Linked DNA regions of Homo sapiens: region 2 is linked to region 1. Evidence: promoter capture Hi-C in 16 types of primary human blood cells and fetal thymus (Javierre and others, 2016). All regions are on one chromosome and are shown on one strand. Each heading gives the region's core, a stretch centred on a gene start or on the middle of the fragment in contact. The rest is flanking DNA. Distances are from core to core; before and after follow the strand shown. Region 1 holds the start of SUV39H2 (SUV39H2 histone lysine methyltransferase). Region 2 holds the start of LOC124902378 (a long non-coding RNA gene).

Region 1 (3,056 bases), core at 557-3,056:
CCAGGACTACAGTCTCTTCTCTGAGGAACCCAGGTTGGACTGAGGAAAAGGAGCCAAAAAGGATTCAAGAGTGGCCAGTGAGTAGCGATGGCCGCTCCTTGGTGGGCTCTGAAAACATACAGGAGAGGTAATGAATACAGGGGCCGGTTAGGACGGGAGGCTGTATCCAAGTCTGAAGGCATAATCCTAGATAGACTAAGCCTTAAAGGGCCTGGATGCTCTTCCAGGTGACAGGGTTGGACAGGGCCTTTTATTCCTTATCTCAAGGTAATGAGATATGGAATACAAAATTTACTAAGGACTCAAATCTTAGAAACATGTCTGAGAAATGCAGTTGCATTGAAACACACACGGACTGCAGAACAGTATTTGTATTATGATGCCGTTTGTAGCTAAATAAAGTCTGGGAGCATGAGTGTGTGTGAGGAAGTGGTGTTTCCCATCGTAGAAAATGATTAAATATTTAAAAACGAGAAGTTAAAAAGAAAATCACTCCGAAAAGGCTATTTCGTTATTTTCCTATACATTTTTTTCTTCCATAGTTAAAACTATATTTCAGGGGGATTTGTTTTGGTTTTGCTGAATACTAAAAGCTTCATGAACACCTTTTTAAGACGGCTAGACAGTATTTCATAATGGAATCAAATAATTAACTATTCCTTTAATGGTCTGCGTTCATTTCCAGTATTTCAAATTTATACATACTGCTTTGAAACGTTTATGTAATTTTTTACATGAATTTTTTAAGGAGATATCAAATGGCCTTCTGCCAGTTTTCGTTATTTGCTCTAAGATTTCTGCTTTAGGTTGTTTAGAACAATCATGGATGCAGCGTCAAGAATGGGTGGGGGAGGGGGGTGGAGACCAGGTGGGAGGCCCCTGGAGTCGTCCTGCAGCTTCCTTACTAACGTGTCCTTCTCCTCCCGGCCCCCACCCGCCACCAGGCCGAGCTCAGGAGCTTGGCAACAACATGGGAGGGGAGCTCGGGTCCCCTTACAGACCTACCCAATCCCAATTTACATTAAAGTTGAGCCCAGGAGGTCTAGTCTGCAGTGAGCCGTAATCGCGCCACTGCACTCCAGCCTGGGTGACAGAGTGAGACCTCATCTCTTAAAAAATTCCAAGTCCAGCTCCCCCACCCCCGACGATTCGTAAGCCCCTTTAAGTGAGAAGCACTGATGTGGACCGGTGGTTTCCGCTGTGCCGCACATTAGGATCAGCTGGGAGCTGGATAGCACAGGCCACACCCCACACCAACCAGTCGGAATCCCGGCGACTGCCCCAAGCCAGCGGAACCTCTCCAGCCATGCCCACGTGCAGCCGCTTCCGAAGCCCGGAGCTCTAGAGGGAGCGGTGTCGGGGGGAGACTAACCATGGCCCACGGGGCTGCGGTAGCTGCGGAACCGTACCCGACAGGCAGCGTCCCCGGCTCCCTAGGTCCCCGCTGCCCGTGTCGGATCTCGCAGTGTGCGAGTGCTGCCGAAGTAAGACGTCTCCAAAGCGCAAAGTCCTGGCCGACGTCTTCCCGAGTGAAGGCGCCAAACGGGCCTGGCGAAGGGAAGGGGGCGCCGGACACTGCCGAGGATCCGGGAGCACGCGCGCTCGCCCCGCCCCGCTCCTCGCGCTTGGGGCCGGGCCTAGCTTTGGGGCGCAGGCGCGCTGGCCGCCGCGGCGGGGGGTCGGCCGCCAGTGACGTCAGGACGCCGTGCGGGTTCCGTCCCCCAACAAGCCCCGGCCCCCAAGTCCCGCGCGGGCCGGCCAGGGGCGGGGCGTCGGGCCAGCTGAGCTATCCCGTCAGACCGCGCCAGTTTGAATGAAAGCTCTACAAGATGGCGGCGGTCGGGGCCGAGGCGCGAGGAGGTGAGGCTGGAGCGCGGCCCCCTCGCCTTCCCTGTTCCCAGGCAAGCTCCCAAGGCCCGGGCGGCGGGGCCGTCCCGCGGGCCAGCCAGATGGCGACGTGGCGGTTCCCCGCCCGCCGCGACCCCAACTCCGGGACGCACGCTGCGGACGCCTATCCTCCCCCAGGCCGCTGACCCGCCTCCCTGCCCGGCCGGCTCCCGCCGCGGAGGTGGGCACTGTCCGAGCCTGGGGCACTTCGGAAGTGGAGCGTGGCCTCTCCGCCCGCTCGGCCCGGCCCCCTCCGCGTCTCCCGTGGCGGCCTCGGGCTTCGAGGCCGCTCCCCGGCAGTCCCCGGTTGGAGGTCCGGGGGGCACGGCTGCGACTGGCTCCTTTGTGGTGGTTCGAGCGCGGCGTGCGGCATGCGCCCGGGCCTTTGAAGTGGGAGGCGGGAAGCGACGCCCGCCGGCGTGAACATGACCTTAATATCAGAGGGGGAGAGTAAATCGGGGCGCCTGTGTGCTAAGAAAGGGGATAAGCGAGGAATCCCCCCCAAGGCGGACACGCTAGGAGGTTGAGTGCCTCGTTGGAGAATCGCCCAGAAAGTGGGTATTTGAGGTTGCAGCCTCTGGCTTACGGTAACTCTTTCACCCACCGGGAGCTTGGTGTTATTTCTGTGGACGCTGGGGAATTGGGCACCGGGGAACTGGGCACCGAGCGCGCGTGGGTGTGGGCGTCGGGGGGTGTTGGTGTCGCGCACGCTTTGAGAGCCTGGAACTTTTCCGTGCGTTCCGGAATGTAAAGGTGTTTTCAAGCTCGTCTCCTCTCCGCTGGGATTATGACCTCATTATCCCTGAATTTTTCTCCTTGGAGAATGTCAGGGGTTACTGTGAACCAGCGGAAGGTGTTTGTGGTGGTCATGAACTATTTAATTTTGTCAGTGAAATCTTTTTCTGCATTACTGGAGACTGTCGAGAGATTGTCTTTCTTTTTTTAACCACGTGTTTGCAGTTTTTCATGTTCACTTTTTTTTTTTTTTTAATTTTCAAAGAGCATTTCCTTTGCGGGTTGTGTTTTGAATCCTCAACTAGATAAAAATGTTTAGGAAAAGCACACAAACACACCTTGAGTAGATAAGAGGAACCTCCTTTATACGTGATTCCCTTAATGAGGTCAGCTTAACACAAAACGTTCTCTAGTTTTTGTAGATGGAAGGGACT
Region 2 (3,056 bases), core at 157-2,656, 700 kb before region 1:
CACGGTACCCGGACTACATCTTTTCTTGATATTTCTGTCAAAATGTTCAGGATTGTCACGACTTGGACAAACCACTTTCAAAAGCTTTGTTTATTTGTGGCTTTTTCTTTATAAGAGGCAACCCCAACACTACTACCAAACTGCCGTATAATTGTTTATCAAACCTAGACTGGGGAGGGGACAAAAATGATAGTGATCAATGGAGATGGGAGTTGACACAGTTTCTGCTTCTAAGACTTCTTTGAACTCTCAAGCTGTGTTTTTAAAAAGAGAGAGAGATAGGGTGCAGTAGCACATGCCTGGAATCCCAGTGCTTTCGGAGGCTCAGGCAATGAAATTGCTTGGGGCCAGTAGTTCAAGACCAGCTTGGGTAACATAAGAAGACACTGTCTCTACAAAAAATAAAAAATAATAATAATAGCCAGGCAAGGTGGCACATGCCTATAGTTTCAGCTACTTGGAGGGCTAAGGCAGGAGGAGAGTTTGAGCCCAGGAGTTTGAGGCTGCAGTGATCTCTGATCTTGCCACTGCACTCCAGCCTGGACAACAGAGCAAGAGAAGTCTGACAAGACAAAAATTTTTTTTTTCTCTAATTGGCCTATCCTTCATGGTAGGGGTGTGAAAGAGACCCCCATCATCTACCCTAAAAGTAACTCATGAACTCCTTGGTACAGGGATGTTCCTAGGTTCCTTCAAGGTGGACACATATGCTGAGAACCTCCTTTAAGGCAGGTTCGACCGGGGGCTCTGCCCTGAGGTTACCAGTGTGAAGAGTACAGGTGAAGGCTGTTGAAAAATTTAAGAACTCCAAGGATTAGAGGTAACAATCACAGAAACCTTCTGAATTCTACTGAGTGAGAACTAGCAGGAGGGTTGAACAATTCAAGTGGAAGCAAACGTTGGGAGAAGTACTCATTTCACCTGGGATTGTTGATTAGGCTGCTTCAAGGGAAATCCTATTCTTGAAGGTGGCTTTGACCATCTGGAGGAGGTTAGGATGTTGGTGCGTGGGGCTGTCGTAAGCAGGATGGGGTGGAGATGTGTAGGAGGTGAGGGAGGACTTCAGACAGAGAGACTGACCCATGCTGAAAAAGCATAGAGCTAGGCAGTAACATATTTGAAGAGAAAAACAAGAACACTGAAGTTTACAGAGTGCTGATAAGTGATCTCCAGATTATATGGTCTTAGACTCGATTTTTCTTAATTTAAAATTGAATTTACACCTCACTTTATTTGAAAAGTTATGTGTCATGCACGAATGAAATAATGTGCAGACAGAGTTCACTTTATATCATTAGTGGTGTCTTGGAAAGTTACACATTAATTTATTTAGAAATCTGCAGGAAATTCCTTTATGTTATAAAAGCTCATTCTTCTAAGTTATTCTAATTTTACAAGTTGGAATGGGCCATGCCTGCAGAGTGTTTGATGGTCCCTTTAACAGTACTGGGATTGTCTAATAATGGAATTATGTTTACAATGTGACCTTTCAAACAATAAATGTGCCTCAATGTGCATTATCTTCATAGCTCTAAGGAGTTGTTTCTTTTTTTTTTTTCAAATCACTCCTGTGTCTTAAATTTCCTTGGCCAGCTTCAACCTGAGGCACAAAGGAAAGTAATTGCTTGATTCAATTTCTCACTGTGTCAAAATAATGAAATTGATGGGCATCTTTTACTCCCAAACCTGGAAATGCACTCTATTTTGCAAATTGAATCTTAACCATGGTATCTAAATATGTTCATTAAAAGCAAAACTACTGTCTTTTAAAAATGTTCATAAACAGAGACACTCATGCCTGAGGTCATAAAGCCAAGTTGGCATTTTGATCAGGTGTGAAGAATATTTCTGTCTCAATTTTAGTAAGACATGATTTTTCTGACTCAGTACCTCAGCATAACCTAAGAAACCAAACTTTGTGAACAGTATTGACTTTAAACATCATAGTAATCATAAGAACAAAGAGAAATTATGAGATATGGAAAATAGCTCCAGAAACAAAGGCTTAATTTGAAAACTTTGCTATGGTTTCCAAGCATGTTTTTACCTGGTCATGGTTTGGAGAAAGGAGTTGGACCTTCTAAAAGTAGATCACCAAGCGCTTACATCTTAACACATTTCCTTTTTTGTTTTTCTTTTCTTTTCTTTTTTTTTTTTTTTTTTTTTTTTGAGAGAGTCTCACTCTCTGTTGCCCAGGCTGGAGCGCGGTGGTGCCATCTCGGCTCACTGCAAACTCTGCCTCCTGGGTTCAAGCGATTCTCCTGCCTCAGCCTCCAGAGTTGCTGGGATTACAGGTGCATACCACCACAACCGGTTAATTTTTTTTTTTTTTTTAGTAGAGATGGGGTTTCACCATGTTGGCCAGGCTGGTCTCGAACTCCTGACCCAAAGTGCTGGGATGGATTACAGGCGTGAGCCACTGCAACTGAACCCATTTTCTATACCCAGCTTGTTGAGTAATCTCAGTTATTTATCTAGCTTCTCTTAGCCAACTTTCTATTCTATTATGTTAAAAAAAATGGAGAAATTACTACTTCTCCAATGTTAAAAAAGGTATTTTTTGTTGTTGTTCCAATTTAAGGGAATTTGTTTGCTCAACAAAGGCTGAAGTGCTTTATACAAGGCACCGTGCCCGTCTCCTGAGGAGCCTCTGAACGTTCCCAGAAGCACACGTCCAGGCCGGGCAGAGCATGGCTTCTGTTTCTACCTCTCAGTGAAATCAATCCCCCTAAGCTTTCTTTCAAAGTAGCCCAAATGTGTGGCTCATGGGCTATAAGTCAGATATGAAAGAAGAGAAGTTTGGAGAATAAAGGCGCATTTTCTTATTTATTTATTTTTTATTTTTTAAGGAAATGATAGATATCCTTACCACATCTTCGTGCATGGCCTGCCCGGATACAACTGCGTGGGTACTGCGATGGAGCACAAACAAACGCGACCGCTAAAGTCGTGTAGGGTGTTTCCCTTTCATGTCTGAATTTGTTTAGACAGTTACACAATCAGAGAGCGCGGAATGAGAGAAAACAAAACCCAGGAGAAAGGAATGCTTTGAATCT

What was found. The method cuts DNA at HindIII sites, captures the fragments that hold promoters and counts their contacts. A CHiCAGO score of 5 or more calls a contact.
Region 2: a fragment that was not itself captured here is called in contact with the fragment with the promoter of SUV39H2 in region 1 in 6 of 17 cell types (fetal thymus, naive CD4 T cells, total CD8 T cells and 3 more); the score reaches 7.5 in fetal thymus.

Annotation. Positions count from the first base shown.
Region 1 is chr10:14,877,060-14,880,115 of GRCh38, forward strand. It overlaps SUV39H2 (SUV39H2 histone lysine methyltransferase), which reads left to right and starts at 1,807. Exons shown (of 6, transcript NM_001193424.2): 1 at 1,807-1,860. The coding sequence starts at 1,830. SUV39H2-DT (SUV39H2 divergent transcript) reads right to left here and starts at 1,600. Exons shown (of 1, transcript NR_186426.1): 1 at 1-1,600. RefSeq lists a silencer at 1,541-2,280. The HindIII fragment of the contact is 2,774 bases long and covers 592-3,056 here.
Region 2 is chr10:14,181,981-14,185,036 of GRCh38, forward strand. The region is part of intron 2 of FRMD4A (FERM domain containing 4A); the gene reads right to left. It overlaps LOC124902378 (a long non-coding RNA gene), which reads left to right and starts at 910. Exons shown (of 2, transcript XR_007062060.1): 1 at 910-991; 2 at 2,850-3,056. The HindIII fragment of the contact is 2,649 bases long and covers 83-2,731 here.